Linked DNA regions of Homo sapiens: region 2 is linked to region 1. The links are contacts of gene promoters, found by promoter capture Hi-C in human tissues and cell types (Jung and others, 2019). All regions are on one chromosome and are shown on one strand. The core of a region is centred on a gene start or on the middle of the fragment in contact, and the rest is flanking DNA. Distances in the headings are between cores, read along the strand shown. Region 1 holds the start of MYOCD (myocardin). Region 2 has its middle 39 kb from the start of LINC00670.

Evidence for each region. The method cuts DNA at HindIII sites, captures the fragments that hold promoters and counts their contacts. A contact is called where the count stands out against the background at its distance.
Region 2: a fragment that was not itself captured here is called in contact with the fragment with the promoter of MYOCD in region 1 in 1 of the 25 tissues and cell types used here (aorta).

Annotation. Positions count from the first base shown.
Region 1 is chr17:12,664,622-12,668,765 of GRCh38, forward strand. It overlaps MYOCD (myocardin), which reads left to right and starts at 1,269. Exons shown (of 14, transcript NM_001146312.3): 1 at 1,269-1,622. The coding sequence starts at 1,568. The HindIII fragment of the contact is 11,548 bases long and covers 1-4,144 here.
Region 2 is chr17:12,508,938-12,513,205 of GRCh38, forward strand. No RefSeq gene overlaps it. Among named protein-coding and RNA genes, the nearest start is that of LINC00670, 39 kb to the right of the region's middle. The HindIII fragment of the contact is 3,132 bases long and covers 789-3,920 here.

The DNA.
Region 1 (4,144 bases), core at 19-2,518:
AGATCCAGAGAGTAAGCTCTAGGGCTAACCCCTCTAATGTGTTTTCAGCAACAGGGGATGGGGCAGAGGCCGGGACCAGGACATTAGAGGTTGTCCCCATGAGCTATTGTCACCTCGGGTCTCCATCTGTCACCGACTGATCTTTTAAGGACTCGTAGTATGCAGGCAGGCTTGTGTGTAATAGACGACACCCGGGGTCCACGTGCATATGAAGTTGCAAATAAGCCCTAATTATATACGTATACAGAGTGGTTTTTATGTTCTGAGCCACCAACTATTTAACGGGCTTCTTGAGAGATGGGTCTTTGTTTTATTTCATTGATCCATGTGCCTATAACACCTCGGCCAGATGCACAAATAACTCTGGGTCGGTTACGGAATGGATTTTCCCCTAAGGAGAGACTCATTCGCAGGCAAAGTTTTTGAGCCTTCCCAAGCTAAGCCCAGCCCGAGCTCTGACTTGCCCCCTGCTCCAGAGCCCCTCCCTATTTAGAGCCCAGTAGGTTTTTCACTCCAACTCAGGTATCTTTTCCCATTCCCTCGGGGTTGTGAGGTGGGAGCGTTGTGTCGCAGCTGGATCTCCAGATGCGCCGTGTCACATTTGTCCCCCCAAAAAGCATATCCTAGAAAATGAAAGCCTTTCCATTTCCCCGTGGAAATGCATCTAAGTCCAGTATTGGAGCTGCGAGATACAGAATCGTCTCTGCCAGTGCCCTGAGCCCCTCAAACCGAGGGGAATGCGTGGGCTTCGGTCCGTCGGAAGCTTTTCTTCTCAGGGGTCCAGCTTATTTCCAAATTGCCCCGCGTGAACTGTCCCGCGGGCGCGCACGCCCTTTCGCGCAGCCTTTGCAGCCGGCTGGCGGGAGATCCCGGCCGCTTCCCTTTCGCCGGCAGAAGCCCGGCCGGGGAAGCCCCGGCTGCGCACGCCCATCCCCAGGACCTCGGAGCTCCCAGCGGCTGCCGCAGCCCCGCGAACCACCTGCAAGCCCCGCGGCGTCGCAGCCCTTCCTTCTTTCCTCCGGGCATCCGCTCTTTAGCTCGCGCCCCTCTCCCAGATTCCCGACCCCTGGCCCTGCTCCCGCCCTCTGTGCCTCGGCGGCTGCGGGGCCCGCCGCAAAGAGTTAAGAGCCGGTTCCCGAGACGGCTTCGGCGGCTCCGGGTCCCCAGACCCCGCTCGCCGCTCCTGATTGGCTGAGCGCCTGTCAGTAGTAAAGGGTATCAGATGGCAAAGTTGGGACCTTCATAAAGGCGTGGTGGCGATTCTCCGCAATCGCCGGCAGCCTATGACATCAGACAGGAACGCCTGGGATGCCGCGCTGCTCCTGGCCAACCTCCGAGGAGGAGGAGGGTCCCGCCGGCTAAGAGTTAATTAGCCCCGCACGGCGAGGGGGGAGGCGCCAGTTTTCTGGGGACACTGGCTGCCACTGTACTCCTACCCAGGGGAGCTCACGGAGAGTTGGATGAATTCTGGGTTGTTAGCTGCGGTCAGCTGGGCTCCCGGGAGCCTGTTGCTGGTGGAGAACAGGGGGCGCCTGGCCAAGGGACCAGCGGCTTGCTGAGACTCAACATGACACTCCTGGGGTCTGAGCATTCCTTGCTGATTAGGAGCAAGTTCAGATCAGGTAGGGCTAAGGCATTTAGCATTCCTTCTTAAACTTTCCTCTTCTGCAATTCTCAACTCTAGAACTGCTTTCCAATAAATGTTTCAAAGCCTGCCAGGTCTACCTCAACTTTGTTCCCCAAAAGCACATTGTGGAAGCGAAGAGTTTTGTTTGACTTTGGGGGCCTTTCGTGTCTTCCGTTGTAAGTGCTTTGGGTGGTCGAGTGTGGTTGTTCATCTGTGAAAAGGCCAATCCTTTTATTTTATTTTCTCTGCATCTATGAATAGAAATTTTGGAGGGGTACATTCAGAGGGAGCAACTTTGGAAATGAACAAATAAGGGATTTCAAGTTTGGAAGCTGCGTAGTATCGGTTATAATCGCTGAGAAGATGAACCTGATGTTGTGTGTTAGGTACAGGGGTCACTTAAAATGTAGCTAATCCAAACAAATGTATTTCCCAAAAAAAGTCACTTGGGGGAAGTAAAAATAGCAAATTTGGAGCACACCAAGTATTTAAAATGACATCACTGTAGAAAAAAAAAGAAAGCCCAGTGCCACAAATATTTTTTCCCAAACCATCTGATATTTATAAATAGAGAATTTCCCCCAAAATTTCTGTGTTAGTGGCACATGGAGAAACTTCTCAAAGGACGCTGAGTGGAGGTGAGTGGAAGGGAGAGACGGGAGCTCTAACCGCTTCTCCAGAAGGGCTTGTACACGCGCCCATGGAAGGTGTCTGTGTGGGTCTCCACGTTTAGACAAAGCAACACTTGACTTCTGAAGTTATTTTTCAGTAGCTCTGTGTATAATGTTGGTTTTAGAAAACTGGTTAACAACACACTCAACAATGTAGGACTTCTACTTAGATTGATGACTTTTAGGAGAACTCTGATGTGAACATTAGACATAACAGGTGTCAGAAAGATGCTGGCATAGGTTGCTAAGCTAAAGTTTCCTTAGCCCTTCTACATGGGGCCAACTCAGTTGTTTCACTTGGGATGGATGGTTCAAAAAGGAAAAATGTAGATGCTGGGAGGTAAGGTTCATCTGTGACTTTCTTAGATGCCCTTGGTTTTTAGATGCCTGTGGAGTCAACTGGAGATTTTCTTAGGATCTTCATTGTTGATGCAAGTTGAAAACTCAAGAGCTTAGGCGGTCACAAGTCTCACTGCCCCTGAAGCTCTGGGATGAGTCCGCCAGCCACTGGGGTCGGCAGTGGATTAAGTCCTTCCTTTCCTTTCCATGGTGAGGTGAGGCGGTTGATCTGTTAACCAGCTAGAGACCTCACCACTGCGTTGTATTCGGTCAAAACTGTAAGGCAACACTGCCACCTTTCTGAAGAAGAGAGGATGTAGATTTGTTTTCTATGAGGCTGCATTCATTTCAAATGCTTCCTTGCCAGTTTAAATGTGGAGGGTCTGGGGGTGCTGGTTTGTCTCTAAAAGGATCTGGTGATGTACTTGATAGTAGACTTGCAAAACGCTTATCAATCCCTCCTTCAGCTAAAGTGCAGTGGAGAGGGAAGTCAGTTTTTGCCACACTCCCAACTTCCATCTCAGTGGATTTGTGGAGTCCTGGTGTCTCCTAAGTAGACCCTGAAGACCCTGATCCTGGAGCTTCAGAGAATTCCAGCCTCACTTTTTTTAAAGTTGTGCAGGCTTTTGTGTCATAAGGAAAGGTAGCTTCGGGAAAACATGATATCACAGCAGAAGCAGGCATCCTTAATCCTCCCGTCATTGATAAACAGGGAATCTGGAGTCTGAGATGCAAACATTGATAGTCTCTTGACAGACAAGAGAAAAAAAACAAGTGGAATGTAAAACTTAGAAAATGTAATGTTTGAATGGAGGTTATTCTTTCTGGATGTAATTACTACTATGGCTGTGCCAGCACTGAGGTCGCAGCATGCTAACAAGAGGGCCTCTCTTTAAGAGAATGTCTTTTATTTTGTCACCAACAGTGAATAAGGGCCTTGACTTTATTTTGATTTCTCTCTCTCTCTTTCACTGTTTTCCCTTCTCTTTCATCATCTTCTTCTCCTCCTTCTCTTTCAAAAGCAACTCAAACAGTAAACTCATAAAACTGTTTCTATCTCACTGCGAATATTTGCTTTGATAGTAGATCGTGGTATTATGTATTCCATTAAACATATTTCAAAAAATAAATGCAACAGAACCATTCTCTGATTACAGCAACAGACCCACTGTGACGGGGTTTATTTATAGGTGAGCAGATAACTGCTTTTACTCTGAAATCATCATCGATGTCAACCATGGCCGACCAACTTTCTATAAGCTGTATTTGAGTGACCTCGTGATTAAGGACAAAATTGTGCTACAGCAGCAGTAAGCTCTGAAAGTTTACATGTATGAACATGTTTAGTGATATAAACTCATTTGAGAAGCCAAAGGGTGTCCTGGTTGAGTGCGTGGGTCTCGGGGGCCAGACTAGCTGGGTTTTTCATAGTGGTCTCTGCTTACTAGCTACATGACCCTGAGCGTTAGGTAAATTACATAATTCTCTGTGCCTCAACTTGCCTCAC
Region 2 (4,268 bases), core at 1,105-3,604, 150 kb before region 1:
GAAACCCCGTCTCTCCTAAAATACAAAAAATTAGCCGGGGTTGGTGGCGTGCGCCTGTAGTCCCAGCTACTCGGGAGGCTGAGGCAGGGGAATCGCTTGAGATCACACCACTGCACTCCAGCCTGGCAACAGAGCAAGACTCCGTCAAAGAAAAAAAAAAAGAAAAAGAAAGAAAGAAGTGGAGGGAAGGTCTAGCCCTCTTTTGAGTTACCCTCTGTTGGCAGTGACCTGATCTGTGACTCTCTGTGCTCCATTTTCTCAAGAGATTATACTGAACTGGCTCATCCTCTTTTCATTTATTGTTCCCCTATTCAAAAAAAGACTTGAATACAGGACTGATGGCATACCTGGTTTGGCTGAGTGACAGACAAACTGCTAAACTCAGAATGACCCTGCTCCTCCAGGCCCTGTCCTGACTTAGTACCTTTAAAAAAAATTAATGAAAGGAGCCTATTTTCCTGTTTCTTCTTTTCCTTTAAATGACCTCTAACTCAACAAGCTTCTCCTGTCTTCAGGAAAACTGACATCTGGTTGACCCACAGGAGCATGTCCTGATACATATGAGCTCTGGGGGTTAAAGCAGCTTAGACTAAAACTGAGGCAGCCACTGTACCTCTCTCATCAATGAAATTTACAGTCTTTTGTAAAACTTTCCACTCAAACATCTTATGAAATTAGTTGATATAAAAATGAGTGATGCTGTTTTCTGAATGCATTCAACCATTTTTAAGTCTTGACTTAAATAAAAATCAAGACTTCTTAAGTCTTGATTTTTATTCCAGAATTTGGTCCACATATTTGATAACTTTATCAGGAATTTTTTTTTTTCCTAAGAGTGATGAGAAGTTTTTTGAAATGATTTAAGCATGTGGTTAAACAATATCAGATTTATAGCTCTCTGGCTGCCATGTGAGAATCCAATTAAGAGGAAGGTTAACATGTATATAGCTGTCCAGGAGAGATGATGGAAGATTGGATTCCAGTGGAAACAATGAAAGTGGATAAAGGATCTAAGAAATTTAAGAGATATTTTGGAGATGAGACACAGACTTCATTCACTTTAGGTGTCTTTGTAAGCTTGGGTTGCCATAACAAAATACTGTAGACTGGATGGCATAAGCAACAGAAATTTATTGTCTCACCATTCTGGAGGCTGTAAGTTTGCGATCAGGGTGCCAGCAGGGTTAGGTTCTGGTGAGGGCTCTCTTCCTGGCTTGCAGATAGCAGCCTGCTTACTTTGCCTTCACATTTCAGAGAAAGAAGGAGAGCTGTCTAATATCTCTTCTTGTAAGGGCACTGACTCCATTATTAGAACCCATCCTGAGGAACTCATCTGTACCTAATTACTTCTCAAAGGCCCCCTCTCTAAATACTATAACATTGGGAATTAGAGCCTCAACATATGAATTTTGGGGGACACAGTTTTGGCCATAGCAGCATGTGTACACACACACAAACACACACACAAACACAGAGACAGACAGAATGTACACCTGGAATCACGGTGACCTAAGTGGCCACAAAATCTTCACCCATGTCTACTTGGGGAGAAGTTACTCTCTAGGTTTCAAAATCAACCTGGGTGATCTGTGATGGTGATGTCTGCAGCTTAAGATTTACACGTCATTAGCAAGTTAAATTACTTATCCTCTTCAATCTCGGTTTTCCCATCAGAAGACTGAAATTATTAAAATGTACTCTGTAGAAGCTCAGAAGTTCGAGATAGTACATTCTGAGGGCCTGTCTGAGATCCTGCTATATTTTAAGACAGAAATGGTTGTCAGATTTTAAAGCTGATGTTCTGCATGTTTTCTAGAAAACAGAGTCAGAGAATAAGAATTTATTAGTGTTTATCCAACATTCTCTTCAAGTCAGTAGACATGAGTCACCAGAAGTGTACTCTGCATTTAAACATTGGTGTTTTCTGTAACTTTAAAAATGGTCAAAACTATGTATGTAGTCAGGAGTTCTATGCATTGAGGACCAGCTCTGTGCCAGGTACAATGCTGAGGACTTGGGACCTAGCGGTGAGCCAAAAAAAAAAATGTCCTGGTCTCAGCCTCCCTGGAGCTCGCCGTCTACTATGAATATAGATTTTGAATAAGTGGCTGTAAGTTAGAGGGCTGTGAAATGGGAAGTCTGTGGTGGATGGGAGCAGGTAACAGGGGGAGCTAAACCAGTCTTGGCGATCAGTCAAGCCATCTTTGAGGAAACAACCATTGGGTTGAGATTTGAAGGATGAACAAGAATGATATAGGTGAAAATGGGGAAAGAAGCATATCAGGCAGAGAACAGTTTGGAGACACAAAAGAATATGGCTCCTTAGAGAAACTAATAGAAAAAGTGGTGCATTCAAGAGTAGAGTGAGCAGGACACAATGGTCCAGGATGAGGCCAGGGCACCAGACAGAGGACAGAGCGTGGAGGGTCTTATAAACCTTATTAAGATTGTTGGATAGTTGTGAGGACAAAAAATAGAAAGCTAATGAAGAATTGCAATGAAATATCACACAGAGATTTTCTACCCTCTAATCAAGAAATAGTAGTAGCAAGAACTATGACAGAGTAAAGGATACCAAAAGGCATCACAAAGAATAGTGACCACCACGAATTTTGAGGGATTCTGTCTCCTTCTTTAAGAAAATGCCGAGCAGTAACTCTAAGAGGCAGCTACCAAGAGATATTGGTAGAAAGAAATGGAAGGTAATTCTGTCCAGACATAAAGACATTTTTAGGCCTACAAATAAATAAGATTAACACAACATCCTATGACACTAGGTAAATGGAGTGAAAATATGTCTATTGGTTAAAAATTATTATGTTGCAAATAACAGAAAACCCAATACTCACACTAGCTTGAGTAATTAAATTAATTGTCTCAAATAATTGGAAATCCAGAAATAAGGCAGCTTCCAAGGTGAGCTAAAGCTGGATTCCAGATCTATTTCTCTGCATTTCTCTTAGCTGTACCCTTCTCTGTGATGGCTACGTTTTCTCCTGGTGGCAACATGGCTAGGGTACCACACACACCACCCAGGAGACGAGAGAGTGCTTCTTCCAGTGGGCCTCTATTAAAAGCAGAGAAGCTTATTTCCCAGAAACCTTGAGCAATCTTTTCCTCATATGATTCAAATTGGGTCCCATAACCATTTTTGAAAGAATCTCTGTGATTGGGAGGGTTTCCTTGTGCTGAGCGGCTGAGACCCAAGCTCCTGTTCCAGTTAATGTGGGGAGCTTGACGGGACCCCCATTGGACAGGTCAGGCTCACCCCCACCGATGGGGGACAGTGATCACCTCTTGAAACACCTGAGATGTATGGGGGAGAGATCGAACATAGATAAATCAGGATCTTGTTAGGAAAGAGAAAGCGAGGAATGGATTCTGGGTAGAAACCAACAATCGCTTACCCCAGGGATGGGCAAACTTTTTCTGTAAAGGGACAGATAGTAAACATTTTAGGCTGTTGCAACTACTCCACTCTGTCTTTGTAATGGGAAAGCAGTTGTATAGACAATACGTAAATGAATGTGCATGGTTATGTTCCAATAAAACTTTATTTACAAAAATAGGTCAAACGTGGCTCCCAGGCCAAAAGTTATTGACCCTTGATTCATTCTATCCTATATTAATCAGCACATTTTAGCTTTCTCCTCTAGATTATTTTCCATCTGAAATTAATCTTGTTGTGAATTTGCTTGTTAATTTTTACCTTATTTCATTCATGTATAAAATTGCTGGGGCCAGCGTGCAAGTGGCAATGAGTGGTTACAAGACAGCAAGGTAAAGAATGTATTTTATCCTGGAGTCCTGCACTCTGTGGGTAGACTCCTATAGGGATGGCTGCTTTGTCATGCTGTGACATTTTCAGATGGTGTTCTTTGAAAAGCTTTAAACTTAATCCAAATAAAGAATGCAGACCTCATTTCATATTCATTGCCTTGCACACTAACAAAGCTTTAGAAATTTTGCTAAATGTGGACTTGGACATGAGTCATATGATTTTTACTAGTGGAGTCATAGCTAAATTAGAAAGACAAGACACAAAGACATTAAGGGACATTAAAGGTGACAAATATGATATGTTACTGGGACTGAGGAGCCAGCGCTTGTATGCTCTTCCTGGTCTTTGTCGATTTTGGAATAGAGATTGGGAAATTAAATTCCAAGAAGGGAAAGAGAAGCATTTACTTTCAAGTTGCAAGGAGCAAAGAAAGAGTAAATACTTTCCCACTGAGCACGATACTGCTCATTTTCTGGCACCATGTTTG